Linked DNA regions of Homo sapiens: all the other regions are linked to region 1. Evidence: promoter capture Hi-C in 16 types of primary human blood cells and fetal thymus (Javierre and others, 2016). All regions are on one chromosome and are shown on one strand. Each heading gives the region's core, a stretch centred on a gene start or on the middle of the fragment in contact. The rest is flanking DNA. Distances are from core to core; before and after follow the strand shown. Region 1 holds the start of COL19A1 (collagen type XIX alpha 1 chain). Region 2 overlaps COL19A1 (collagen type XIX alpha 1 chain). Region 3 overlaps COL19A1 (collagen type XIX alpha 1 chain). Region 4 overlaps COL19A1 (collagen type XIX alpha 1 chain). Region 5 overlaps COL19A1 (collagen type XIX alpha 1 chain). Region 6 overlaps LMBRD1 (LMBR1 domain containing 1). Region 7 overlaps COL19A1 (collagen type XIX alpha 1 chain).

Evidence for each region. The method cuts DNA at HindIII sites, captures the fragments that hold promoters and counts their contacts. A CHiCAGO score of 5 or more calls a contact.
Region 2: a contact is called between a fragment that was not itself captured here and the fragment with the promoter of COL19A1 in region 1, in 1 of 17 cell types (naive B cells). The highest score is 5.1, in naive B cells.
Region 3: a contact is called between a fragment that was not itself captured here and the fragment with the promoter of COL19A1 in region 1, in 1 of 17 cell types (naive B cells). The highest score is 6.8, in naive B cells.
Region 4: a contact is called between a fragment that was not itself captured here and the fragment with the promoter of COL19A1 in region 1, in 1 of 17 cell types (naive B cells). The highest score is 5.8, in naive B cells.
Region 5: a fragment that was not itself captured here is called in contact with the fragment with the promoter of COL19A1 in region 1 in 2 of 17 cell types (total B cells and naive B cells); the score reaches 8.7 in total B cells.
Region 6: a fragment that was not itself captured here is called in contact with the fragment with the promoter of COL19A1 in region 1 in 2 of 17 cell types (naive B cells and total B cells); the score reaches 5.6 in naive B cells.
Region 7: a fragment that was not itself captured here is called in contact with the fragment with the promoter of COL19A1 in region 1 in 1 of 17 cell types (naive B cells); the score reaches 5.6 in naive B cells.

Annotation. Positions count from the first base shown.
Region 1 is chr6:69,864,390-69,868,302 of GRCh38, reverse strand. COL19A1 (collagen type XIX alpha 1 chain) reads right to left here and starts at 1,747. Exons shown (of 51, transcript NM_001858.6): 1 at 1,663-1,747. RefSeq lists silencers at 710-779, 790-839, 1,060-1,109. The HindIII fragment of the contact is 9,714 bases long and covers 1-2,649 here.
Region 2 is chr6:70,015,033-70,019,080 of GRCh38, reverse strand. The region is part of intron 11 of COL19A1 (collagen type XIX alpha 1 chain); the gene reads right to left. Among named protein-coding and RNA genes, the nearest start is that of COL19A1, 150 kb to the right of the region's middle. The HindIII fragment of the contact is 6,043 bases long and covers 1-4,048 here.
Region 3 is chr6:70,069,436-70,073,805 of GRCh38, reverse strand. The region is part of intron 15 of COL19A1 (collagen type XIX alpha 1 chain); the gene reads right to left. Among named protein-coding and RNA genes, the nearest start is that of COL19A1, 210 kb to the right of the region's middle. The HindIII fragment of the contact is 3,432 bases long and covers 143-3,574 here.
Region 4 is chr6:70,045,821-70,050,133 of GRCh38, reverse strand. All of the region lies in intron 14 of COL19A1 (collagen type XIX alpha 1 chain), which reads right to left. Among named protein-coding and RNA genes, the nearest start is that of COL19A1, 180 kb to the right of the region's middle. The HindIII fragment of the contact is 6,984 bases long and covers 1-4,313 here.
Region 5 is chr6:70,087,839-70,091,894 of GRCh38, reverse strand. The region is part of intron 15 of COL19A1 (collagen type XIX alpha 1 chain); the gene reads right to left. Among named protein-coding and RNA genes, the nearest start is that of COL9A1, 210 kb to the left of the region's middle. The HindIII fragment of the contact is 9,444 bases long and covers 1-4,056 here.
Region 6 is chr6:69,708,659-69,712,957 of GRCh38, reverse strand. The region is part of intron 9 of LMBRD1 (LMBR1 domain containing 1); the gene reads left to right. Among named protein-coding and RNA genes, the nearest start is that of LMBRD1, 86 kb to the left of the region's middle. The HindIII fragment of the contact is 5,858 bases long and covers 1-4,299 here.
Region 7 is chr6:70,108,909-70,113,229 of GRCh38, reverse strand. All of the region lies in intron 16 of COL19A1 (collagen type XIX alpha 1 chain), which reads right to left. Among named protein-coding and RNA genes, the nearest start is that of COL9A1, 190 kb to the left of the region's middle. The HindIII fragment of the contact is 2,386 bases long and covers 574-2,959 here.

The DNA.
Region 1 (3,913 bases), core at 498-2,997:
CTCTACTTAGAGAGGGTCCTGCAAGTTTCCCACCACTCAAAAACAAGGAGATGCCAAGACCCCACATACGAGCAGGGGCTCTTTTCTTTCTTTTTTTTTTTTCCCTTTAGTCTCCTAAAGAATTATAGCAGTGTTTGATTCGGGCAGAGGGGGAGGCATTGGTGTTCTCTCCTTTTTGGGGAGGGGTGGTGGTTGAAAATAGATACTGGTGTGCGTTTGTTTCATCTCCTCCATTAACAGGCAGATGTAAATTCCCCTACAGCAGAGTGATTATCCTCACATCTTAATCCTCCTCAGACTTATCCAAGCAGAAGATGGGACTGAGTCGTCTTGGAATTGGGGATTGAGGGAGGTGGCGCAATTTATTTCCCTTACTCTTCCATCTCCCAATCTCAAGCTGTGGCCGATGATCACTCTCTTGCCTCTATTCACGGATTGTTCTATTAAAACTACTTATTATCAGCATTCTGGGCCCTCCTCTTTTTGCTCTCCAGCCCACTGTCCCCTGAGGCTGACAAGGCACGCTGGTCCCCTCTGCCTCTTCACCTTCTCATCAAATGAAGCTCCTCGGGGGCTCCTGTGGCACCCGCCTGTCCCCCAGCTCCTCTGCCCACCCTCTTGCCGGCTTCCCGCTCCCTCCGTAACCTCTAAGGGGGTTCGCTTACGCGCCCGCCTGCTCTCGGGGAGCTAGCGTGCCCGACGGCGTGCTTGGTTCCGGGCCAACAAACTTCCTCGCGACCCTGCAGCGCCCTAGCTGGGCCGCCCGGCGCCGCCTCCTGGTTCTCGGCCGCTGTGGCTGCGGCGCCGGCGCGCTCTCGGCGGTGGCCTCGGGACTCTGACAGCGGAGGCGGCAGAGGCTGGGGCCGCGTCTTCCTCGCGCCGCGACTGGGACGTTCCGGCGGCGGCGGCGGTGGCTGCAGGGAGGACTGCGGGGACGGCGGCGGCGCTGTGGCCGACCGCGCTGCGCATGCTGCAGGGTAATTAAGGAACAGGGCCGGACGCTCCGGAACGTGGTGGGGCTGGAGTCCGGGAATCCCCGCCCGCGCCCGCGCCGCCCCCCAGAAGCCGCACTTGGGAAAAACACCCACATGTGGAGTAGGTAACCCCGGGCCGGAGGGCACCGCACCGGAACCCCGCGTCTCTTAGCTTACGCCGCTTAACTGGCTGCCTCGCTTCCAGGGCTAACACCGTCAAAAAAAAAAAAAAAAAGCGCTCTAACGGCATGAATTGATAGTGAGTTTGTTTTACTCCTTTAACCCCCCATTTTTTTTGTAATGTATTTGATGTCTGTCCCTACCCGCATCAGCAGTGCTCCATAGTTCCGCTTCACAGACACACATAGCCAGAAAAACCACCTAGAACTTAGGTGTAACGCATGAAGCCTGCATCATGTGAACATAGGAACACGAACTACATGGTATGTACCACATGAGAGTGGCCGTCTCCTGCCAAACGTTTTTGGTCCCATCCTTAAGGCCCCTATGGAAACGTATGCAGGTGTGCATTATTTATCCACCTAAACATATTTCCATGTGTAGCACAGTTTTTACATTTTCTTGAAAAGCAGATGCACACAGATAACTAGGAACACGAGCAGATGACATAGCCCGGGCATGTGTGAGAGGGCAAGTGCAGAGCCGGTCGCAAAGCCGCGCAGCTTACCTTGAATTCGTATTTGAGCCCCTCAGAGGCGCAGTGGAGTCCGGACAGGGCTGCGGCACCGCCGAGGAGTGAGCTCCCTGCGAGTGGGGAAGGGGGACGCATCTCTGCCCTTATTAGTCTCTCCCAGTGTGACCCTCCCACTCCGCGAGGACAGAGGACTCTGCAAGAAGGTACTCAGCCAACTCAGGCACAGGTTTTCTTTAATGACAGCGATGTCGCCTTAGAGCTGGGAGTAATGCCTTTCAGGTTTATGTTTTACTAGCAGTTTCACAGATAAAATGACGGTTGGATGCAAATGCCTAGAGTTTCTCACTTCTGATCATGAAGTGTCTTCAAAGTATTATTGTATGTGGCAAACGTTCACGAGTAGGTAATTGGCTTTTTAACGGTTGAGCTAAGAAAATATATCATTTATGTTTCATTTTTTCACTTTTATGTCAAGAGTTTATATAAAGTTGATTAAGGCAGTCTGCCCACCTTCTAATCACGCTCATATGTAAACGTTTGTGTGGCTTGGTTTTTCTCAGTGTCCACAGAAGTATTTTGTGATTTTAAATACATCTTTCCATGGGTTGGTGCTTCCAATCTTGGCTTTTGAACTCTTTTGGGATCCCTTTGAATATGTGAAAGTGTCATTTTCCTGCAGATTTCTGTGTAGGTGCATGTATGTGTGTGTAGAGAGAGTATATATATATTTGTAGGCATATATAGTAGGTTTATATACATATATAGGAGGTATATATGGATACTTGTAGGCATATATATTTGTAGGTATATATACATATATAGTAAATTTATATGTATACATATAGTGTATGCATATGTATGTGTATATATGAAAAACAGAATGATTTATAGAATTCAGAAGAGTAAACCAGGCATTAGAAAACAGATAAACTGGTTTTACATTTTTATTTCAGTATTGCCACAGTGGGAGAAATAGGATAAATTATATTATTGATCCACAATGGTGAAAATCATCAAGCTTAAAAGTTACCTTAGAACCATAGAAATACACTTCACATATCAGAGCTCACAGATCAAGGAATAAATAAAATCAGGCAGGCAAAAAATAAAGATGTTAAGAAAAATGTTAAAAGATAGCTCCTTTCCACTTCATTGGAGTGAAACCATTAAAGTATCACTTGTGATTTTTAAACTTCTCTCTCAACCTAATCAAGATACCTGCAGTTTTAGAGTTCGGCATTCATGGTGATGCAAACCATGTTTCTATGTCAGGATTTAAAACCACTTGATACATTTCCTTCTCATATGATTTTCATCACTAATTTTTGGCTGACTGTGGAAAGAGGCCAAGGAGGGAGGATATTGCATGAGTCACGCTACTCAAATGGCCATTTGAAAAACATGATTCACAAACCTTCATTAGACTTTTGGTGATCAGTCTCTATTTTTTTGAAGTATTATCCCATTTGATTTTTTTCTTTCTCTAAGCAATTTTACTTTATATACCTTGCCATCACTAATGAATTGAACTAAGAGCATCCAGGCTTTATTTCTTTGTCAGACTATTAAATTCACCTTATTTACACTTAATTGAAACTATTTAAAGTAATGCTTTAAAACTACCTAAAAGGAAGTCCACAATTTTGTCTCTAATTTTTGTTTTAATACAAGTAAATCAAGTTTATCTTAGAATTATTTTCTTAAACATTTTAATAATTTCATAATTGTTAAGATATTTGAGAGAGCTAAACACTTATATTTTTGTTTATATTTCAAAATGGCCCTTTTCTTATTTCTAATATTGACCCAAGCAAGATTTTGGAAGAAAGTGAAAAATGAATAAATAAAACTTCAAATTATTATTATCTGTTGCTTATTCTGTTTCTAGATACACCAACATCCCCAGGGCAACAAATATTTCTCTATTTTTCTTTCAGGAAAGGGTTTGAATCTAGGCTGGTTTCATGATTACAAACTATTGTATACCTAGGGTTTGCTTCTTTAGCCAGTTCTTTTTATTGAATTTTAAAGTGACTTCAATTAGGAAGAACCTTTAGCCAAACACCTTTTATTTATCTAAGCCAAATACAATTATAAATGATCCGGTTTTCTTCTTGCTTCTGAAGCTACTGCTGGTAAACAAACATCTGAAAATATCAGGGGAATCTGACAGCACTCTAAGTTTTAATAAACAGCTTGCAGCACTTCTAACACCAAGTTCATCTGTGTGCACGTATGTACTTAAAAAATTTAACAGATTTAAAAAACGAACTTCTTTCAACAT
Region 2 (4,048 bases), core at 809-3,308, 150 kb before region 1:
GGACTACTTCAGCTTTTAGCTGAAGCTGGTGGTAGAAAATTCCTGTGGAGTTTTGGATGCTGTCAATATTTCACCTCAAGCCCAATCCTCCCCATTACTTTTCATTTTCTGCCTCTGGGATTTTTCTGAAGCCAGAGAGTTTGTTCAGCCCTGGCAAGGTATCCTGGAAAAATGGGGGTAGTTAATGCTTCTAGAAATAATTCTCCAGCAAAGGGTGACAGGAATTAGTGGATTAATGTGTCAGCTTTCTGTTCTACAGAGGGATAATTTCCAGGCACATTCTACAGGCTTCCTCAGAGGATTTCCAGTAGGACTCAGCTGCAGTTACCCACAATGATACGTAGCTCAAAACATGCACCCTTTAATTATCTTTCCCTTGTTTCCTGACTTATTTTCCCCATTCCGTCACTCCTGTATCCTGAGCTCCCTCTCAAATCAACTACCTGACCTAAAGTCATTGTCTCGGACCTTGTTTCAGGGGAATGCAAGTGAAGACAATGTCTATCAGCCCCCAATGCCTTCACTTTTGTCCATCCATGATCTGTCATTCCAAGTGTTTTGTTACCACCACTCTAAACACCCTTGCTCTACTAGCTTTCTGATGGAGCTAACTCCAGTGAATCAAACTGTCCACCTCTTGTTCCTAGAGAAAAAATATACAATTGGGTAGACTGGTATTATTATAAATTCATGATCACTAACCTAATTCTAGGTCCTTAAAGAGTGCCATTCCCCTCAAATCCTTGGTATTATGACTTCTGCTTTTACTCTCAAAAACCTTGCTTTCTACCAAGAAAAAAGAAGCCATCATACAAGCCTTTCCTTGATGCCATGAAATCTACAAATTCACTTATTTTAAAACCATTCTTTACTCTTCTACATGGAACAATTATTCCTTACTGTTTAATGGTAATCTTTCAACCTGTGTTTTCAATCCTATCTTTTTCTGCTCCCTCATTATGGCCCTCTTCTGAATCTTCAGCCTTTTCTCCCTCACTTCTTTCTAACCACACTGAAACATGCTGTTGAATCTTCTGTTAAAACAAAATCTTGCACTTCTATATCCTGTCATTTCCAGCTTCACCTGGAAGGAAATCCTTCCTTTTTCAGATAAACTTCTTGAGCCAGGCTCCCAATACTCCTGTTTGCATTCATTACTCCCACTCACTCTGCAGTTCACTCCAGATTGACTTGTACCTTATTTGGTCCTCAAAAACTGCTCATGCCAAGGTCTTGGGTGACCACCATCAGACACCTTTTAGTCTTTTTCTTCCTTAACCTATCTGAAGCATTTGATATCTTTATGACAAGCCCCCTCCTAGAAATACTTACTTGCTGTGATACTATATTTCCTTCATTTTTATTCTACCTCTGTAGCTGCATTTACTCATTTTCATTTTTGCTAGATCCTCTAAGTGTTGCTGCTCCACAGGGATCTGTCCCAGCTTCTTATGTTTTCCCTTTCAACAAACTTTCCCTAGATGTTTTCTCTACTTTTACAGCTACAATGATCATCTATATGCTAATGAGTCTCATGTTCCTACTTCCAGCATAGATATCTTTTTTATTGTTTAGCTAACAGTTTTATTAAGGTATGATTTACTTGCCATAATACTGATACACTGTACATGTAGGGTGCAATAGTTTTAGTAAATTTATATAGGTCTGCACCCATCACCACAACCTAAGACTAAAATACTTCCATCACCTAAAAAAGTTTCCTTGTGCCCATTTGTAGTCAACTGCTTCTCACTCTTGTAGTCCCAGAAAACTACTGACATAGTTTTTGTCTCTATAGTTTTGCTTTTTTCTAGAAATTTCATATAAATAGAATTATACAATATGTAGCCTTTTTTGTCTAGCTTAATTGATTCAACATTATGCTTTTGAGTTTACCCATGTTGCATGGCTAAGTAGTTTGTTTCTTTTTGAGTAGTATCATTTATGTGGGTACACCATATTTTATTTATTAATTCACCAGTTTCTTATTTTTAGATATTCTAAATAATGCTGCCATGAACAATAAAATAAACATCTTTTTGTGGACACAGATTTTTACTTTTCTTAGGTAAATACCCAGGAGTTCAATTGCTAGGTCATAATAGGTAAGTATGTGTTTAACTTTCTAGGAAATTCCCAAACCAGTTTCCAAAGTGCCATTTTACATTCCCATCAGCAGTGTATTAGGGTTCCTGATTTCCACATATTCTCACCAATTTTGTCAATCTTTTTGATTATAGCCATTTTAGTGGATGTATAGTATTTCATTGTGGCTTTAATTTGCATTTTCTTAATGATTAATGATCATTTCCTCTGCTTGTTAGACATTCACATATCTTCTTTGAAGAATCATCTATTTAAATCTTTTTTCCATTTTTAGTTTGCCTTCTTATTTGTGAGTTGTAAAAGTTCTTTATGTATTATTGATACAAGTCATTTATCAGATATATAATTTGCAAATACTTGCTCCCAGAATATGGTTTGGTTATTTTATTCTTGAAATAATATTTTTAAATTTAAAAAAATTTAACAGCTTTATTGAGGTGTAACCAGCATACAATAAGTTTCACATATTTAACGTACACAAATTTGATGAGTTTTGACACATGCAAACAGCCATGAAACCATCATAACAATTAAAATAACAAACATTTCCATGTTTGCTTTGTTTTGTTTTGTTTTTTTTTTTTCATGTGTTTTTTTTTTTTTTTTTTATTATACTCTAAGTTTTAGGGTACATGTGCACATTGTGCAGGTTAGTTACATATGTATACATGTGCCATGCTTGTGCGCTGCACCCACTAATGTGTCATCTAGCATTAGGTATATCTCCCAATGCTATCCCTCCCCCCTCCCCCGACCCCACCACAGTCCCCAGAGTGTGATATTCCCCTTCCTGTGTCCATGTGATCTCATTGTTCAATTCCCACCTATGAGTGAGAATATGCGGTGTTTGGTTTTTTGTTCTTGCGATAGTTTACTGAGAATGATGGTTTCCAATTTCATCCATGTCCCTACAAAGGATATGAACTCATCATTTTTTATGGCTGCATAGTATTCCATGGTGTATATGTGCCACATTTTCTTAATCCAGTCTATCATTGTTGGACATTTGGGTTGGTTCCAAGTCTTTGCTATTGTGAATAGTGCCGCAATAAACATACGTGTGCATGTGTCTTTATAGCAGCATGATTTATACTCATTTGGGTATATACCCAGTAATGGGATGGCTGGGTCAAATGGTATTTCTAGTTCTAGATCCCTGAGGAATCGCCACACTGACTTCCACAATGGTTGAACTAGTTTACAGTCCCACCAACAGTGTAAAAGTGTTTCCTATTTCTCCACATCCTCTCCAGCACCTGTTGTTTCCTGACTTTTTAATGATTGCCATTCTAACTGGTGTGAGATGATATCTCATAGTGGTTTTGATTTGCATTTCTCTGATGGCCAGTGATGATGAGCATTTCTTCATGTGTTTTTTGGCTGCATAAATGTCTTCTTTTGAGAAGTGTCTGTTCATGTCCTTCGCCCACTTTTTGATGGGGTTGTTTGTTTTTTTCTTGTAAATTTGTTTGAGTTCATTGTAGATTCTGGATATTAGCCCTTTGTCAGATGAGTAGGTTGCAAAAATTTTCTCCCATGTTGTAGGTTGCCTGTTCACTCTGATGGTAGTTTCTTTTGCTGTGCAGAAGCTCTTTAGTTTAATTAGATCCCATTTGTCAATTTTGTCTTTTGTTGCCATTGCTTTTGGTGTTTTGGACATGAAGTCCTTGCCCACGCCTATGTCCTGAATGGTAATGCCTAGGTTTTCTTCTAGGGTTTTTATGGTTTTAGGTTTAACGTTTAAATCTTTAATCCATCTTGAATTGATTTTTGTATAAGGTGTAAGGAAGGGATCCAGTTTCAGCTTTCTACATATGGCTAGCCAGTTTTCCCAGCACCATTTATTAAATAGGGAATCCTTTCCCCATTGCTTGTTTTTCTCAGGTTTGTCAAAGATCAGATAGTTGTAGATATGCGGCATTATTTCTGAGGGCTCTGTTCT
Region 3 (4,370 bases), core at 609-3,108, 210 kb before region 1:
TTTGAGGTCTCAGCTACTCCACAGTGATGACACCAATCTTCATATCTTTCTTTAAGGAAAAGGCAATAGTCTACTCTACCTTGCAGACATTTTTACATACTTAATTTTATTATCAAGTTAGATCAACACTGGGCCTCAAGCTTCTGGGGCATTAGAAAATGGGCATGGACATCTAGGTAAAGTAAGATTCAGGTAAAATTTAAATAAAATAGATTCAACAGAGTAGTAGTGAAAAAAGTCATTTTATCTTAAATATTTTTTCTTGATCAATTAGACATTCTCCTTAATCAAGTACTAATATTCTGAAGCTGTATACCTACATTCCCTTCTATAAACATCTTGAGATCACTAGGCTAACACCGACATGGCATTACTCCTCATCACAGCCCTGTGGGGTAGGCGTTATTAGCATCTCCATTTTCTAAAAGAGGCATGTGAGGTGCAGAGTGGCTGAGGAATTCACACAAGATCACAAAGCTCATAAGCAGTAAAGCTGGGATTTAAATTCAGGCAATCTGGGCCAGGCGCTGTGGCTCAGGCCTGTAATCCCAGAACTTTGGTAGGCCAAGGAGCGTGGATCACCTGAGGTCAGGAGTTTGAGACCAGCCTGACCAACATGGTGAAACCCCATCTCTACTAAAAATACAAAAATTCACCAAGCATGGTGGTGCATGCCTGTAATCCCAGCTACTTGGGAGGGTGAGGCAGGAGAATCACTTGAACTGGGGAGGTGGAGGTTGTAGTGAGCCAAGACTGCACCACTGCACTGCAGCCTGGGCAACAAGAGCAAAACTCTCTCTCAATAATAAATAAATAAATAAATAAATAAATAAATAAATAAATAAAATTCAGGCAATCTGGCCCCAAAGTCTGTGGTGCAACCTGTATGCTAAATTCCAAGTTGCTTGCACCATAAGATGAAAGTGGACATGTTGCTTGCCCTGCCCTCCTGTACTTTTGTAGGCTCCCAGCTCATGGAGGAAATGTGACCCAGCCCCTTTGCCATCAAGTGTGGGCTGGTGCAAAGAAACACATCTTGACGGGGGCAGGGGTAGGTAGGTTGATGTTCTCTGTGCTGTTTAGAATGCAAGGAATCCTGACTCCAGACACAGCTTCAAAGCCAGCTTGGAGCAAGCACTTCAAGGGAAAGTAAAACCTGCACAAAAATGTTGCAAGGAGGCAATCAAGAGGATGGTTGCCCAGAGAGGGGAAAAAGGACAGGCACAGGCAGAGAGGATAAATTGAGAGCAAGACAGGGCAGGATAGAGGGGTAAGTTACAGGGAATTTAAAACATAAAGTTTCTGTTCAGGATCAAAATTAGGATCCAGCAACAGAGTGCAAGAGTGAGGTGTCATCTTGGTCCAACCACACAAACTTCTGTTTGCGGCAGTAACTAGTTGATTCACCAGTAAATGTCTTTTTTCAGAGACCTAGAGGAACTTCTTTTAAAAAGACCAGGGTAGCTTCACGCTAACCTTGAGATTATTCAGATGTGCATTTAATGTGACTATAAAATGAAAATTCAAGGTTACATAAAAATTATTGTTTTCATTATTTTTGGGGAGAGTCTGTTTGTTAGGAATACTAAGAAATCCTGCAAGGAACCTACATCTTAAATGGAATTTTTATAATGCCAGTTCTTTTGCAATGTTTCTCATTAATATCCATGAACATGATCTGCTACCTGAAATATTCCACTTTTCACAAAGATACTTCTCTGGGTTTCCATCCAGTTCCTGTCCTTTTCCCTCCACCACAATCTCCATTGTTTGCCTCTCCTACCTCACAACTCATGCCCTAATTTCCTTACACATTTTCTTGAGATTTTTGTTTCCAGTGCCCTCCTCACTACTCAACCGAACTTCTCTCCCCTGGCACCAATTCCAGCCACTTCTCTTATCCAGCATCCCTCCACTTACTTTGTTCCAAATTTTAATTCTGCTGAACCCTTCAAGAATCTAGAACCGCTCTTCTGTTGACTTCTTGGTTCTGTACGGCCTTTTTCTGCCTCATGATGGATTAAACCCCCTCTTAACTTCCAGGAAGGCCCCCAACCCCCAATGCCATTCTGTTCTCCCTCATCGTGATCTGAAACATTCTCATCTGTAGCTTAGGATCAATATTCAACATTCATTGAATTCTAAAAACTGTGTGAATCCATAAAGGATGTAAGACTAAAAAATATGTCAACCAAATATTTTGCTTGCAGGGCTTCAAGAAGACAAAGTAAATAAATAAATAATGGCATATAAAAGATCCAAAAAATGAAAATCAGGAAGTTGAGAAATAAAACAGCCCATAAATTTCAGATACATATTGTCACAGAACATTGTTAAGAATAGCTTTTAAGTGTAAGAAGCACATTACTTCTACATTTTATTAAATGAACACTTTATAAACTAAGATTTAGCAGCTTAAATGATAATTAAAAAAATAAAATCAACTAATCAAAATTTCAAACAGAACCTTGGCGTGGTACTTGCAAAAATAGTGTTGCTATTATGCTTATAGGAAACTACACAAAGAGTTAGAGAAAAAGAAAAAGAATTCATTGATCAGAATCCTATGTCTTTCATAATAATAATAGCAATATTAACATGTTTCTATAATGTTTGATATTTTTCAAAGCATGTTTAAATGTGACACCCATGTTTGAAACTCACCATAATTGTGAGATATTGGTAGAGTAGTAGCTACTACGTATTTAATCATTGATGAAAACCAACAAGTTAATGATTTGTTTAAAATTAAATGTTCTGCTTTAATTAAAGTCATTATGTCTAGGAATAAAGTACATAAAACTTCACATATTTTATGTTTCATTTAAATAGCCTTAATGATAGTCAATACCTTCTTGGTCAACCACTCAATTAAAATACAAGAGGTTTTTAACATTGGGTAAATAAAAATGATTTTAAATTCCTAGATTTTTCTCACTATTGTTTTCTACTGCAAACTTTAGTGAAATAGAAAAATTATTGGTCTTAGCTTTCAGAATGTGCATCTGTATGTATACACACATATGTATATACACAGGCATACATGTACAAATACATTTATATGTCTGAAAGAGCTGAGTACTCCTTAACTATTGAGCTGAGAAGAAATGGTGGCACTCAGTTGGACCTAAATGTAAATATGTAAGAACGCTCATTTTTAAAATTCATTTGTTTCCCATTCAAGTAGCTTATAAAGTAGAATAAATCACTGAGCATATATGGATATAATCCAAATGCATATAATTATTTGTAAATGTGGATAATGTCAATAATACCTGCTCTAGCTACTTCTTTTGATAAATAGGGCATTTGGGAAAGAGCAGTAGCAATAATGACGAACTATGCCTAAAAGTGTCTATAAGTTCTATTACATTTTTTAGTTTCTGACATTATGTTACTCTTGATAGAAGATAAAAGTAATATAAAATTATCTGGACTATACGCATTTATAAATGGAGTAAATTTACATAAAATAGTGGTTGAACTTTACAATTTAACTGATTTCCTTCTTTATTATCATGGAAAATACATGTTTAATTTATTCTTTAATCTACTTTCTTATGAAATGCAAGCTTTGATAGGGTACAATTTTAATTTGAAGCATTATTATTTCTAAAAAGCCTCATTTAAATATTTTTTCAGTTCACCCAGTATCTAACAAGTCTGTCATAATTATCTTACAAGCCAAATCAAGAAATGTGGGTGGGAAGGTGGTAGGGTTCAAATACATTTGTACATGATTTGATTGTCACACTTTAAGGACATCAATGGTGGAAAAGATGGTAGCCTAGGCTGGTGTTACACAGGGTTGTCAGGCCCTGTTCTGTTCAGGATTTATTAACGATTTAAATGAAGACAGAAGGTAGGCTTATCAAATTTTAAAGTAGCATAAGGCTGAGGGATATTTCACTGGAAAACAGGATTCAAATCATTTTTTAAAAGCAAAAAGCCCCCAAAGAATAGAATGCTATTAGGGATTAAAATCAATAAAGATGAAATTTAACAACAAGGATCAGTTCCTACTCTGTGATTCAAAAAGGTAACTGTACAACAACGGGCTGGGTGAAGACCTGACTTAGCAGTTTTCATTAAAATAAAAAGGGAGGAGCATTTAATTGACCACATGTAGTACAAGTCAAAAGTACAATACCAGACAAAGGAGCATTGGCTCAATCTTAGGCCATAATAGTAGCATGTTGTCTGTGGTATGGGGCGTACTTGCCTCATTTTACTCTGCCCTAAGTAAGACCACATGTATCCAGTCTCATTCTCGACAACTCTGGAAAGCCAATGAGTGTTTTCTGACAAAGATTATTGGCATGTTGGAGAGTCCAGAATCCATACGATAAGAGAACAAGTTAAGAGAATTG
Region 4 (4,313 bases), core at 1,500-3,999, 180 kb before region 1:
ATAGGAAATATTAGTATCACATTTTATAGATGACACAGAAAGGTCAAGAAACATGGTTAGGTTCAAACTCAGGTAGCCTGGTCCCTTGATCTGTATAATTCCTGAGCTAAGCTGCATGGGTTTTTGGTTTGTTAAAATCAGTTAATTGGAATTAATATAATTCGAATCCTTTTTAGAGACCAATCATTTTTTAGTTCCATTTAATATATCAATATAAGGCATTACCACAAAGATTTTTAAATGCTTAGAATAGAATTGAATTAAACTGATTTTAATGTAGATTTATGGCTGAAATAAATACGTGCTTTGCTGCATATAATTTTTCAAAAGGCTTACCCATCTTATAATTTTCTAATGGCATTTAAAATACATTTTAATTTATTTTTCTAGATTGCTGAGTATTTCAACATGAAATAAAATAACTCTTTTGTAAAAGTCACAAATTGTCAATGCATAGCACTTTTAGGAAAGAAAGTTTTACTGATTGAGGTTTAAAATGCATAATTTGGACTTTTGATGAAAACAATTTAAAATGCCTTTTGAAACAGAAGCAAACTATAAACAAAAGGGCAGAAGGAGTTATTCTCAAATTAATCATCTAACGAAAGAGATATAAATCACCTCCATGTCGAACGAGCCAACTGTAAGTTTTTCCAAAACATAAATCTTCCCTGAGGCTAAAACATAAATATTTCCAGGGCTTTAAGCATCAACTCGCCAGTATTTCTTCACAGAATAGATAAAAATAGCTTTGTATTGTAGAAAAATACCTTATATTTTAATCAACTAATTCACTTACATGTCTTTTGCCCACAAATAAAAAAAAGGATTGATTTTTTAAAATATTTCAACTGCCTTCTTTCTACTGGCAGATTAGGACCTCAGAAATCCCAATACTAAGTTGGATTACTAGTTTCAGAAAACTAACAATGAATTAAATACAAATTACGCAACTTTAGAAAACTAATAGTGTTGATTCAAATTTAGGCAACTCATAAAGTGTCTAAATAACTCAGATTTTGATATGTGAGGAATTTAAAATAATCTTAAATTGAATAGCCTGTTAATTACTATGCTATAATATATACATTTATATGTACATATAAATATTTATAATACATATATGCTACAGAACATATTAATTCTAGTCAGAATGGAAAGAGGAATTACGCTCTTTGGGCATACAACAAGAACCTTTCTAAATGCCATCAGAAAATTATAAAATGGGTAAGCCTTTGAAAAATTATATGCAGCAAAGCACGTATTTATTTCAGTCATAAATCTACATTAAAATTAGTTTAATTCAATTCTATTCTAAGCATTTAAAAATCTTTGTGGTAATGCCTTATATTGATATATTAAATGGAACTAAAAAACGATTGGTCTCTAAAAAGGATTAGAATTATATTAATTCCAATTAACTGATTTTAACAAACCAAAAGTAAATAACTTTAAATTACAACATAAGAATTCTGGTAAAAAATAATTTTCTCTGAAATAACTAGATGTCTGTGTATAATATGAACAACTACAGTTGTACAAATACTTGTAAACTTTTTATACACAATTCACAAACGATCATTTTAAAAATGATCAACTTTAACCAATTGGTTGCTTTTTCTTAAACCACGTAGGTTTTCTGAAGGCAACGACAATGATTGTTGTTTGTTACTGTGTCTGCAGGGCTTAACACAGTATCTGGCACACAGTAAGCATTCAACTAAATGAGTGGGTAAAAGAGGAAGGGAGGAAAGGGACCATATCACTTACTGAGCAGTTATTTTTGTTTCTTGTACATACCAACTTAGAAAAATAATTATTTCAAAAATTCCCTTATGTGAACACTATATGATCTCTTGTGCATTAGGGGCATCTGCTAATTGAATGTCATTTGATTTATAAATGACCAGCTGAGATTTTCTCTCCGTTGCTTATGGTATTTAAGGTAGTTTTCTTAGAGTAAAAGCTATGCACCCTCTCTGTGCGTAATTTCTCACTGAAGCTGGATTTATGTGGGCTCCAAGGAACTGGTATTTAAGTATCATTTAGTAAGCATGTCTAAGGCACTTCTGCTGTTGACAGACTTAACCTTTGGCTTCTGCATAAACATTTGGTGCCATCTGGATGAGTATTTAATAACTTCCCAAAGAGACATGGCCAGAGCAACACAGCCATTTTCCTAGGAACTAAAATTAGTGGATATATTACATGAAATAGCACTGTTCTACCTTCCTTCACCTGTCTCTCCTCTGACATGACATGCAAAGACTGGAAGAGAAAAGGAGATAGAGATGTTAGCCAACTGTCTCATTTCACTCATAGTCCCTGTCTTGCTTCTGAAGCCTTAGTAATGTATTTCAGTAAAACTTTACTGTAAAAACAGGATTATATTATTTAATTGAGGAGAATCTGGCAATAGTATGTAATAGGAAGGTTATAGAACATACACAATTTGTGAAGTTACATATAAAGACACACTACATTTATATAAAATTAAGGTTTTAACAACAGATGACATATAACCAAAGAATTTGTGCTTATCGTACTTGAATATTTGAATGTAATGATTTACAACTAATATTTCAACACGAGAGGAAAAGCTAATATAAAATGCAATTTTTCAAATAACATGATTAAACCATGAAATATTTACCTTTAATAGAGGATTTTTATGTCAACATCTTCATATTTCAGAATAATTTATCAGATTTTCATTATGACCTTGGATACATTATATTTGATCAAATAAATGTGTATACTTATTATGATAAACACATTTTTCTTATTCAGCATTGGTTTTAGCTCACGTATATCTGCCTTGTAAATTACAAATATCAACAGAAGAGATAATTTAAGTTTATCAGTAACTCACTGGTTAAGTGTCATCTTGACATTAAGTATTTAGTTTTCTCACAATCAGAATACAGTATCTTAAAAAATGCTGATTCTGAATATAGTTTTGTTAACATATTTATTTTAAATAATTTAGAAAAGGAATTTTTATTCTTTAACAGGTTATTCAAAAGTGCCTTTTCTAATCCATCATTACTGCAACTCAATACGTGACAATGATATTAGCAATATGGCCATTCCAGATGTGGTAGAACCCAAATACCTTTTGAAAAAATGTGATTTGGTGATATTTTTAAAACGTGGAATTTCAAAAAGTTGGTACATATATATGAAAAACATATTTATAAGGGAATTTTTCTTTGTTGTTAATAACCCAGTTGCTTAGAGAATTTCAGCTGAATCACTGCATTATTTGACTGTATTTGGCTTCATTTGTGCTGTTGAAACCATAAGTCTCAAATTTATAGCAAGTTATTTCACATTTTTATGATTAGAATGCTAAATTTTACCATCTATGAGTTTAACAAGTTGCTGAGAAATGAAAAAATGAATAAGGCAAGACATGGTAAAATCTACAACTATAGATTAAAGACATTTTAATTTAAACTTTGTATCATAATCATTAGACAAATCACAGGAATTAAAACTTAATAGTCATTCATTCTTCACTGTAAGCCTGAAAATACAAACAGCACCAGTGCACTGAATCAGAACAATCCATTTATTCTAATTGGCCAGCACTCTGCATTAAAAAAAAATTGAATATTGGATAATTTTCTGGAAAAATTACTTTGTTGTGGAGTAAAATCAGAAAGAAAGAGAAGAAAATGAGATGAAGTCAGAAATGCAATGAGAGTTGAATCCTGTAAGACTTTGTAGGCCATTGTATGGAATTTGGGTTTTATTTAATTACCTGGGGAAACACTGGAGATTCCGAAAAGAAGAGTGACAAGGAACATTCTGGCTTCTTGTGTAAATCACGCAAGAAGAGCAAGGGGAGAAGGAGGGAGACCATTAATTGGCTACTGAAAAAATCAAGAGATTTATAATGGTAACTAGGACCAAGTAGTAATAGCAGAGGTGTGAGAATTGGTCAGATTCTAGATATTTTTTGAAGGCAAGGTCAATAGAATAAGTAAAGAAATGTGAAGGCTAACTCACTTATGTTTACAGGAGCAAGATATCTAAGTAAATTATAAGTTACTCAGCATTGTATTACAAAAATGGGCTTCCAGGATGGCCCAGTAGTTATATTAAATCAACATGCTCACAGATAGCAACTATAAATACTGAACAACATGTAGAACAACTACCTGAAGACACTGGAAACTCATCAAAAGCAGGCAGATACTGGAGGGGAGTCAACATTTGGAAAAATTAAACAGCATGGAGTCAGTTTTCTGTTTTTAAGATGTTTAGTCTGAGGACAGGCTCAAGTCTGGGTCATGGGTTAGCTAAAT
Region 5 (4,056 bases), core at 520-3,019, 220 kb before region 1:
AAAGTAATTTGAAGTCTGTGCTTTACAATTTACCTTCCCTCAGCTCCCATCAGATCCAACATTTCCCAAAGTAAGGTTAGGGTTTCCTGGGAAAGCTGGTGACCCAGTTGGTCCTGCCGGCAGCAATTGTTGGTCAGTCGCCAGATTCTTTTTATGTTCTTTGACTTTTTCTCTGTTCACCTCTAGGGAAGTATCCTAAAGGCAGAAACCCTAAATACATCTTGTTCCCCTCATTCCTGCTACATCTAGTACATATGCATTTACATTTACAAAACTCACATAACCAACTCAGCTTTCTCAACTACATAAAATTTCCATTATGACTTTTAAACTCTATTTGTTCACCTGCTGGCTTTTCGCTGTGTTTTTATAAGATATTTTCCCCACTTTCAGCTGGCATGTGCCCAGAATTGTTCATAAATTAATTTAAGAAGTATTTACGAAGTCCCTATTGTGGGTTAGATGCTTTACCATGCTCTGGAAATACCTTGAATTCTGTCTCAATAGAGCTTATATACCAGTGGGGACAATAATAGTAATAGATGCCAAATATCATTCAAAGAAACTTACACATATTTATTCATTTAATCCTCAAAATATATTTGAGGTATTCCCATTTTAAGGGTGAGGCAAATTAGTGACAACATAACTTGCCCAAGGTTATGGGGCCAGTAAACACCAGAGTTAAGACTCGAATCCAGGCAACTTGGCTGTATCATCTCTGACCATTACCACTAGGCTATACTTATTGCATCTCTAAGAACTAAATAAATAAAGATACGAATTTTGGATAGTGATAGGAAATACAGAAAAATAAAGCAGGGTAAGGCAGTACAGAGTTATACAGGAAGGTGTGCTGTTTTAGATAGAAAAATCAGGGAAGCCCTCAGCAGAAATGTGAACAAAGTGAGTCCAAGGATCATGCAAGGTCTGAGAAAGAGCATCCAGGTGCATCCAGGGAAAGCTGTCCAGTAGAGGGAACAGCAAGAACAAATTCTTCAAGGAATAGAAAGAAACACAGGTTGCTAGAGAAGAGCAAGTGTGTGGTTGGGTGGCAGGCAGGCCAGATTAGGCTGGGCCTTGTAGATTATGGTGAGTGCTCTGAGTTTCATTACTGTGATTGTGATGTGAAGCCGTTAGGAGTTTCGTCTTAAAAAGGTCATATTATATAGGTTGGTATAAGCACCTGCTTAGGTAGATAATAGGCCAGAAGGTAAAATTGCCACCAAATTCATCATTTAATACAGAAGCTCAATAGAACTAATTTTAGGTTATCTGTTTTAGATTGCTTATAACACTTCCTTACAGGTGTGTAGAGTCGATTATATGTACAGTCATCTCTTGGTATCTGTGGGAGATTTGTTCCAGATCCCCACTGTCCAATACCAAAATTCATAGCCATTCAAGTATCTTATATAAAATGGTATAGAATCTGCATATAAGCTACACACACCCTCTCATATACATTAAATCATCTTTAGATTACTTATAATACGTACAATGAAAATGCCATGTAAATAGTTGTTATATTGTAATGTTTGGGGAATAATGACCAAAAAAATGTCTGTACATGTTCAGTAAGATGTAACCATATTTTCTTTTCAAATATTTTCAATCCATGGTTGGTTGAATCCACGGATGTAAAACCCACAGATACAAACAGCTGACCGTATAACATTTCCATTTCCATTTCCATGTGCAAATCTTTTTTTTTTTTGAGATAAGAGTCTTGCTCTGTCACCCAGGCTGAAGTAAAGTGGTGTGATCATTGCTCACAGCAGCCTCAACCTCGTGGGCTTAAGTATCCTCCTGCCTCAGCCTCCCAAGTAGCTGGGACTACAGGTATGTGCCACCATACTTAGCAAATTGTTAATTTTTTTGTAGAGATGGGTGTCTCTATGTTGCCCAGGCTAAAAAATATTTTTAATCTTACATTAACATTTTATGTAACTGAATATAGTATCTATTATTCTCTGATATTTACCCAGCCCATTGTTTTTGACTGGAAAAAAAGATATACAGTATAAGGAAGTGAGATCTATTTCATCCTTCATTATAAACTATAGTTTTGAAAACAGAGAAAGCTGCATTGTGTAAGTAGTCCTACAAGACTTATAAAAGGATATTAATAATTTAATGAACTTGTACTCAAGGGAGAAAAGTGTTCTTGAAACATGTCAGGATGAATTTTCAAGGGAAAGGCCTAATTAGCAGTGTCTGAAGCATATGTCATCACATTTAGAAAACACAAACCAGTCCCTGTGGACAGAATGGTAAGTTGGATTTTGAAGCATTAACTACTCCAGTTAATATGTATGATTAATGAGCAATATGTCAGTTGGCTGGCCTAACTCAAGTGAAAGACCTTGCAGGAGAAACAAGGATGTTTAAACTCATCCACAGAAATATGCAAATGTAGTTTATTGTCTCATTTATATTTTGATCAACCAATAACTTAGAGATCTTATGGGAAATAATGCCATAGTTTGGGCATCTTTTAAAATATAGAATCAAAGCTACAAAGATGCCCTAAAAAATACATGCCTAACTGTCCCATTGACTTTGCAAATGAGAGCCTTGAGGGGTTAATGAAAGAAAAAAAGCCCTTATCTTGGATCATGGCTGACAAACCAACAACTGAGAAAAAACTATACATTTAAGTAAAGTTATATTGATCTTTTTCTTACACATAATAAAGTATTTTTACCAGATGATTATTTGGAAAAAGTCAAATTGAAGAAATATGATTTAAATCCATTCAAAAGAGAAAACACATGTAGGTGAAATCTATTTGATGTCAAGATCTCCAGAGGCAAAGAGAAAAATCCAGTCACTTGTCTATGGGATTCAAACATAAAATTACATGGCAATATTCATACGTTCATTTAGATGTTTGAGCTCCTGAAGACAGACCCTTAATTTAAATCTTTCAAAAATCAACAATAACTAAAACTACAGGAGCTAATGTTGGAAACAATCGAAGTTACAGATTTTTTACTACTTTAATGAGAAATCAACTGCCACTTAGGAACACAAATGAATGGGAAAAATAAAGACAGTCTTGTATCAATGATAAGCATTTGTATATTTATTAAGTGTTTATTATATGCTGGATGTTGGAGAGTAAAGAGAAAAATTATACACAGATCTTGCCCTCGAGGAGCTCATAGTCTGGTATTAGAATATTTCTCTTCTTTCCTCAATATAAGTTTTGTTCTGCACAAAAAAATAAGGCTATTTAAATAGATCCACAAAAGAGAATAGTAGTTCACCAGTATTTTCAAGAATTATAAGTCTGCATTAAACGTGGACATAGTGGCTTTGGATGATTGGAGCAGCAATATTTCTATTTTGGCATACTTTCAATACTTGTTACCCATAGTCATGCTTTATATTTTAGAAGGGTGTATATTATATTGAGGTGATACAGATTCTAACTCATATATTTATGACACAAATTGATCATTGACTTAAAAAACAGGATAGAAAAAAAATGTGCATTGTATGAGAAGCCAGATACCTGACCACTAGTACATCCTCTTTCATTTATTAATTAAGTGAATCTGAAAAAGTCACATAATCTCTCAGCCTGAGCAATTTCTACCTTAGGGAAAAAAAAGGAATAAAAACATACCTGCCTAAAGATAGTGGGCTAGAATATATGAAGATCTGAGAGGCATTTAAGAGAAATATATACATTTGAAAGGGGCTTTCTATGATCTTTTCCTCATGATTAGACTATAAATTCTGGAGGGCAGGTATGGTAGCTGCCACGGAATGAACTCTCTGTGAAAGGTCTACCCATTCTTCTGTGCAGAAGGTCCCAAGCATTCCCAGAGGAATTAAACTGCCTAGGGGCACGTAGAAGGTGGCTGAACACATTCAGATGTAGAGCCAGTGATCAATTACATTCTTGGCAAATATCTAAGAAAAATATACCCCAAATCCTCAGTTTGAAATTTAATGTTATTGAGGCCAACCTACTGGCCTGAAATAAAACCTTACATAGCATGTGCTCTCTAGTGCCGACACTAGTGTGTCATCATGGATAACTTA
Region 6 (4,299 bases), core at 281-2,780, 160 kb after region 1:
GTTGCTATCACCACATTCTGGGTAATGGGCATATCCATCACCTCCAAAACTTTCTATGTTTTCCTTTGTTGCTGTTGTTGATTTGTTAACATTTAAAATGAGATCCATTCTTTCTAAGATTTTATATGTACCACATATTATTGTTGACTGTAGGCCCTCTCATGGCAGACCTCTGGAACTTATTCATCTTGTGTAACTGCCTCCCCTTAGATGACAACTCTTTTTCTCTCTTTTCTGCATTCCCTGGTAACTACTATTCTAATTTCTATATCTATACTTTTTCCTATTTCAGGTGTCTCACATAAGAATTGTGCAGTGTCTTTCTGTGCCTGACTTATTTCACTTAGCATAATGTCTTTCAGGCACATCCATGTTGTCACAAATAAGAGGATTCTCTTATTTTTTAAAAGGCTGAATAATGTTCCAATTATGTATGTGTGACATTTTCTTTATGAATTTATCTATTTGTATGGGTTGTTAAAACTGTGAGAAACAAAATGACTTTAAAAAAAAAAAACATAGGAACTCTGACAGTAATAGAATTTGCCTCATTGTTAGATTATGTTTCTGAAAGTATGTTAAAGATATTATTTGACATGGAAAATTATTATTTTCTTTTTTTGGAAACCATTGTTTGCCAGCCTTGAATTCTTGGGACTATGGTACTTAAACCTAATTACCTAGAATGAATTAAGATCACTTTAATATGGCTGAGACTAAAAAGTAACAAAAACTGTTGGCCACAGACTTCCAAATATGCTCATTGTATATCTGGAAGCATTTCAAACACCAGACCTTTGTATACAATAGCACACAAGTTGTAATTCAGAAAATTCAGTCAGTGGACTAACTTGAAGTTAGGCAGAATGAAGCTGGAAAGTGGGTTTGTGCTAAATTTTAAAAGAAGTGGTTCAACATGGACAGACAGAGGGGAACAACACACTCTGGGGCCTTTCAGAGGGTGGAGGGTGGGAGGAAGGAGAGGATCGGGTAGAATAACTAATGGGTTCCTTGCTTAGTACCTGGGTGATGAAATAATCTGTACAACAACCCCCATGACGCAAGTTTACCTATGTAGCAAACCTGCATTTGTACCCGTGAACTTAAATGTTAAAAAAAAGAAAAAGAAATGGTTCAAAGAACCATTCAAAGATGAGTCAGTCAGGTTCAATTTGGGTGCTGCTTTCTCCACCTTTTATAATTAGAAAGAAATGCACTAACTGCTCACCCTAAAAAGCGCCTGGTTTGAAAGAGATTTTTAAAAATATACCATAATCAGTTAATTTTTCTATATAATCACTTTTTAAATCTTCTGTTAGAATAAATTTTTAAAAAATTCATCCCAGTTTTTTTTACCCCAAGGTGATTTGTCTTCATAGCACTGAAAGTATGATGAAACTCTCTCCAGCTTTATTTTAATCCTAAATTGTTTTTAGGTTTTTATAAATATTTATAATCTGGTCTCTAACATCAGCTGCCTTCTTTTATATATGCTATGTTCCATTTCACCAAACATATGTTTAGAAGGATTTTCAAATCAACTTTACTAAGTGTACAGACTGGTTTTGCCCAATATAGATAGATAGGGCATCCACATCACTCGAAAAATCTACCTCATGCCCTCTCTTGCTCCCCTGAGCTCAGACTTTAGGTAATTATTGATGTCCTTTCTATCATTAGAGGTCAGTTTTATGTGTTCTGGAATTTTAAATAAATGGAATCATAGAGTGTACAATCTTTTGTCTGATGGCTTCTTTGGCATGGCACAGTTTTTGAGATTTGCTCATGTTATTATTTAATACTATTTTTTTGCCCAGTGGTTTATTCAGTTTTATTGTTCGGTGGTATTACAGTGTGTGTCTGTATCACAATTTGTTTATTCACTCACCCTTGTTGGTGGAAATTTGGGTTGTTTCTGGTTTGAGACTATAATGAATAATGCTAATATGAACACTTTTGTACAAACCTTTGTGTAGATGTGCTTTCATTCATTTCTTTTGGATAAATACTTGAGTAGAATTTTTGGATCTAACGTTTAATATGTTTATAAGAAACTGCCGAAGTTGTTTTCCAAAAGGGTTACAACCGTTTTGCATTCCCACAGCAATAAGAGATTGCCCATTGTTTCACATTCTTGTCAACTCTTATGTAGTGTCTGTAAGAGTTATTCTTATGAATATGCAGTAGCATCTCACAGTTTTGCTTTGCATTTCATTGGTGACTAAATGATATTTAGCATCTTTTTGTATGCTTATTGGCTATTTTCTGTAAAATGTGTGTTTAAATCTCTTGGCCATTTTCTAAATTAGGGTTTTCTATTATGAGTGAGATACAAGCGTTCATTATATAGTCTGGATCTAGCACTTTGTCACATATATGTATTGTATCGTCTCCTAGTTCGTGGCAAGTTTTCTTTATGTTTTTGGTTTCTTAACTGTAATTCAGATGTTTCTTAAATTTTGATGAATATTAATTTATATGTCTATTTTTGGTTCATATTTTTGTGTCCTCAGAAATGTTTGTCTATCCTAAGGTAAGAAACATTTTCTTCTAGAAATTTTGTAGATTTACATCTTATGCTTGGGATCATGACCCCATTTAAGTTACTTTTGTGCTATGGTATGACTTAAGGGTTAAGGTTCATTTTATTTTCTATGTGGATATCCAATTGTTCCAGCATAATTTTTTTTTCAAGACTATCCTTTGCTCATTGGCTTTCCTTGGAAGTTTTGTCAAATAAATTGATTGTAGTGTAAGTGTGGGTCTATTTCTGGAATCTCCATTCTACTCATTGATCTATATATGTCTTTATGCTAATACTTGGTTAATAGAGCTTTATAATCTGCCATGAAGTTAGGTAGTATAAATTATTCAGTTTTATTTTCCTTTTTCAAAATCATTTTGGCTTTGCCAAATCCTTTGCATTTTCATATAAATTTAAGAATCAATTTATAATTCCACAAAACATCCACTAGGATATCTATTGGGATTACTTTCACTCTTATAGATAAATTTGGGGGAGAATTGATATATTCTATCCATGAACATGATATCTATTTATTTACATCTTAAATTTCTCTCAGGAATGTTTTGTAGTGTTCAAAGTAGAGGTCTTAAAAATATCTTGATAAATTTACCTCTAAGTATTTTTTATAGTCTTGCAAATTATGTTGTTTAATTTCAGTTTTTAATATTTGTTGTTAGTATGTAGAAATTTGTCTTTGTATCTTACTCTTATATCCTGCAACCTGGTTAAATTATTAGTTCTAGTACCTTCATTGTAGCTTCCTTAGGAGGTTTTCTTTTATACATGATCATATCAGCTGCTAAAAGACAGTTTTACTTCTTCCTTATAAGATTTGTAATTGCTTTTATTTTTTACTTTTCTAATTTCACTGGCTGAAACCTCCAGTACAGTTATTCTTTTTGTTAGTAAATGTGTCATTTCTGAATATTGATCTAAATTTTTACCCATCTTTCCATGTCTGATCCTAAGTTAGGAATAGGGTAATAGGCATGCCTGAAGGAATCTCTAGGGGTACAAACTGATCGTTATGTAATTGAGGGTTTAATGTGTATTATGAGGAGATAAACACTGCTTTTTTTCCTTAAATGAGATATGAAGGTTGCTGTTCATTTATCTCTGTGTTTGTCTACAATTGGTGTAATTCAGAAATAGGAAGCCAAATTTTCAATTAATGTTTCTTTTCTTTTTTTTTTTTTGAGATGGAGTTTTGCTCTTGTTGCCCAGGCTGGAGTCCAATGGCGCAATCTCGGCTCACCGCAAGCTCCGCCTCCCAGGTTCAAGCGATTCTCCTGCCTCAGCCTCCTAAGTAGCTGGGATTACAGACATGTGCCACCACGCCTGGCTAATTTTGTATTTTTAGTAGAGACGGGGTTTCTCCATGTTGGTCAGGCTGGTCTGGAACTCCTGACCTCAGGCGATCTGCCTGCCTCAGCCTCCCAAAGTGCTGGGATTACAGGCTTGAGCCACTACGCCCAGCTCATTTAGTGTTTCTTAAACATTAACATTCAAGTCAAACTAGAGGAAGAAAGTGGATCTAGGTCCACTTGCCCTTCTATACAGCTCTCTCTGTGTATACTGAAGGTAATTTAAGACCTTTGAGAAGTTCCTGACATTAAATTTCTTAGAAGTTATGTTCTATCTCAAAATTTTGTGCCAGTGTTACCTTTTATTCTCTACTATAATTCATGTTTGTCTTATTATGAAATGAATTAAATTTAAATTTTTGCAAATGTAAAAAAAGTTACAATTTTTAAAATTAGTAGAGGATTTTT
Region 7 (4,321 bases), core at 517-3,016, 240 kb before region 1:
GCAGCGACATGCTTATTCTTGGTGAATGTCTGAAAATTCTGAGCAGTGCTGTGATCCATGATCTTGTCTTGTCTCGCTAGCTTTTCCCCCACCTTGGCATATACTGGCACCATACCTTGAAAGATCTATAGCTCCTAAGTGTCTCAGTCTAAGATATCGCTAGCATCCCTGGTTCACAAGTTCAGAGGCAGTGCGATTAACAGGTGAAGGATTGCAGCAAAGGCAGCTCTGGATGTTGAATGAGAATTTTTCACATCTGCCACTTTGGACATTTTTCAAACTCGTTCCCCCGTGTATTCCAGGAAAGTGTTCACTTGAGCTGGGCTTGTCTGCTTCTGGCCTGCATACTGAGCTGTGTAATTGAGGGAACTCAAGCATAGGCCGTTTATGGTTGTATGAATAAGCAAAATACTCAATATGTGATCTGATTGTCTTCCAAAATTGCACAGTCCCTGGTTTCACTTGTCATTTTGGAACAGAAGTGGGAGGATGAGACTGTGACAGTGAATGCATTCAATGGGCATAATTAACCCATTTCATAAAAGCAGATTTTCTAAATTATGCTAGGAAGCTTGTAGATTTTTTAACACTTTGTTTTCTAAGGCAGAAAAAAATATATTTAAAGGTACTTATTTCCCCAGATATCAACCTAATTGGTGTAAAGCCCACTGCCTTATTGATAGAGTGGGACATTTTGACTGATCTCCATGGCATGATAGTTAGAAAAAAAAAGATTCCTCCCCTAATGCTGCTATTCTGCTTATCCATCCATAAAATGTTTCATACTCATCTCTCCCCAGTATGTCCTGAAAAAGGAAAAATATTATTTGTCAGTGTCCTGCAATATAAGGAGCAGCAGGAATCTTTAGAGTGCCTTGCCACCCACAGATGCAACATCAATGACCCAGTACAAGGTGATAAAAGCCACAGGGGCATGAAAACTAGCAAGGAGGGGAATGTGTGAAACAAATTATTTGTATCCAGTGGTGTCCTCAAAAGATCACCACCAACAAAAACCATACCTTAGGAACAACTGTGCCTCCATCCCCTTGTTTGACCTCAGGAATTTTTCAATATGCCACCAAAATCTGGAGGAAAGATGGCTTACATGGACCCCACAGGCAGCCCACACCTATGAATGCTTTGAGTTTCCATTTACTGTAATTAGGTGATAACATTCATTCTCTTTAAAAGTGTTGGTAGAATGACAACTCTTCCTGAGTTAAGAAAATGCAAGTTTCAAGGCACACTGCTGGGACTTAAGATAACCAGGCTGGTGGCACTAGCTTATACACTGCCAAGTTACATAGAGGCCAAGAGCATGTGCACAATTTGAATAGCTGGGGACATTCTGGGCAGCTCTGGAATAATTGGGTGATTGTGGTCCTCACTTTCAACTCAAATGTGTGATGTTAAGGTCTCTCCCTTATCTATAGGTTGTGCTAATGATAAATCTACAAATGACAATTCTTGGCTCAGCTGAACACCATGGTTATAGACAGTGTGCTCAGGAAAGTTCTAAAAAATAGTTAATAATTTTAGTTTTAAAACACGTGGCCCCATTCCACAAAGGATTTCAGTCAAAGGAGAAGATACTGATGATATCAGCCAGTGAAGAAGTAATCAGTGATATTAACTGTTACTAATCCCATAGAATGTTTTTCCTGCTTCTTAAAATGAATTTGAACTATTCTAAGCATGCTGAAAAGTACAGAAAATAATATAAATTGCAATGAGTCCAAAATCCTATGTTGTCAAATATTAACAATTTTGCGATATTTGCTTTGGGTCTTTCTACTTTTTAATGAATTCATTACAGACATAGCTGAAGACCCTTCAAATCTTATTTTCTGCCAACTTTTCTTCCATGTTTTAGGTCCCCTAGACAATGCTGAAAACTTGTTGCTTCTCTAGTTATATAATTTCCTTCAGTCTTTACTTTGATCATACTAAGCTATAGTTACTGATGTGCAGAGAAAACTGACTGCAAAAATTGAGCTGAGCTCCTTATTCATCAGGACCTAGAATATTCTTATTAAATGAAAATAATCTTTTCTTGCCTACCTCACAAAGATATACAGCAGTAAAATTACATACAGTATGGAGATCCTCTTGGAAACTATATCATCAAATGCAAACTATAAGATTATTTAGGAAACAAATATCCCGTTCTGAAAATTAAGGTTCTAATAAATCTGACTGGCCTTTGACTTCTCAAATCTTAATGTTTACCCAACACAAAGAAATGATGTTGAATCCAGGCACCATCACAACTAATTACAAGTTTGGTGACCACAGATCAAGGATTTCAAATAGTCTGTCTCATCGTTGCTGTAAATAACACATGTCAGTCCAGATGTCTTAATAGTTGGTTTCAAGAACATAATACAAGATGAAACAAGCAGTCAGTGGCTGTACAAATATAATATTTTTTCCACCATAATGTTACCACTATTAGTAAAAAACACAGGAAGTCAGAAAGTGACTAATAATGTCCTACTGCTGCTGTCCGTAGGGAGAGAAAAAGAGAAATAATTAGAAAATAAAACCTGAGAGCCAGTTTTCAAAATCTCAACCTGATATCCCCAGCTGCCTCACATGCATGTCTATGTATTCTGTGGTCACACAAGGTGACACTGGAATTTTAGCAATGTTGGGAACAGCTGTTTTGTCTGGGACCATTACCCCCATGAGGGACAAGTGGCAATAAACATGATTAACTAGCCATGTCTCCATTTTATAGGTCTTATGTGTCTATATTTTTAAATCTGAGAAAGTGTCATCTTACTTTTTTTTAAGAAATGAAATTCCTATTCCCATTGACTCAAATAAATTGTTAGGTTCATTTTCTCTGAAGATATTACATTGCACAGACTTTAGTCATTTAACAGAAGAGATTGTGGTTCTCTTGCTGAAAGGAAAACTGAGCAACATGACTAAGCCCTGATCAGTTCAAGCTTCTAGAAGGGATGTTAAGAATTTGAATTGGATTCCCATTGATACATGATGAGCTTCAAAATGCATGTAGTCACATTCAAGGTATTCTGAGGGTATTTTAACAAGTGATCAAATGTTTCACTGAGACAGTTTTTGTCATCTGCTTTATTCAGCAGTCCAAAAATGTGTTTTGGGACACTAAATTGTTTTAGAGGTGGGTCCTGCTATATGCTGAAAATAATAACTTTCCTTTCAGTTTTCAGTGCATAGTAAATAAAGTTGGAGACGGAAGATACTCAAGTTGAGAACAGCGATGGATAAGGGGGCACAAGTGCCGGAAGGCACTTAGTTCTATGGCGTTTTGAGGGTATGTATTTTCATTGCCCCAACTGTTCAACTGACTCAACCTATAGCCTATCAGAAAGGAAACATCAGATTTAGCTGTGGGGAAAAAGAAAAGACTTAGATGTGATGAAATTCTCCATCTCTAATGACCAAAGTGATATCCAGTGGATTCAGACAAGACTGAAATTAAATGGGCTACAATCAAACCTTTGTCAATTTTGTTTTCTTTCAGCAAACAAGCCTATTCCCCGTCCACTCAAAGACTAAAGATAATGGGCTAAAAACAATATTACCTTCAGAATAATTTATTTGAATCAGTAGGAACAGTAATTTCATCACATAAAAAAATCAAACCGCTGCAGATACACACACACACACACACACACACACACACACACACACACACTTACAAAACGGAGATGTAACTGGTTATTTCATGGCTACGTGTATCTCTCCACTTGCCCCCCAACCCTTCTTTTCCATTCTTATAAGGCCCTATATGATGAAGCCATTCAGCTCCCAAATCTTTTCTGGCACTATTCTTTTCTTAGCTCCTTTATGTTTATTGAATACATCAAGCTTTTCCCCACCTGAAGCTCTTTGCAAGTCCTGATATTTCTGTTTGGAAAGTTCTTGCTCTGGCCCTTACATGGCCAGCTCCTTCTCAAGGAATGTCTTCTGCTCAGAGACACCTCCCTGGACCACCTCAATTAGATGGTAATGAGAAGAACATCTCCTCCTTCCAAATCATTATCACATTACCCAGTTTATTCCCCCCATAGCACCTCACTCTAAACCGAAATTGTTTTGTCTATTTATTTAACTGCTTATTAACCATTGGTGTACTGCCTCACCACAGACAGTAAGTTATAAAGAAAGGTAGAGACCTTATCTGTAGTTTGTTGTTGCTTTGTGTTTTTAACCACTGTATATTCAATGTTTGTAATAGTGATTAACACATAGTAGATAGGCCATAAGTATTTGTTTAGTAAATAAATTAAATTTTACACCCTAAATTTACTCTTTTAATTGTGCAAAC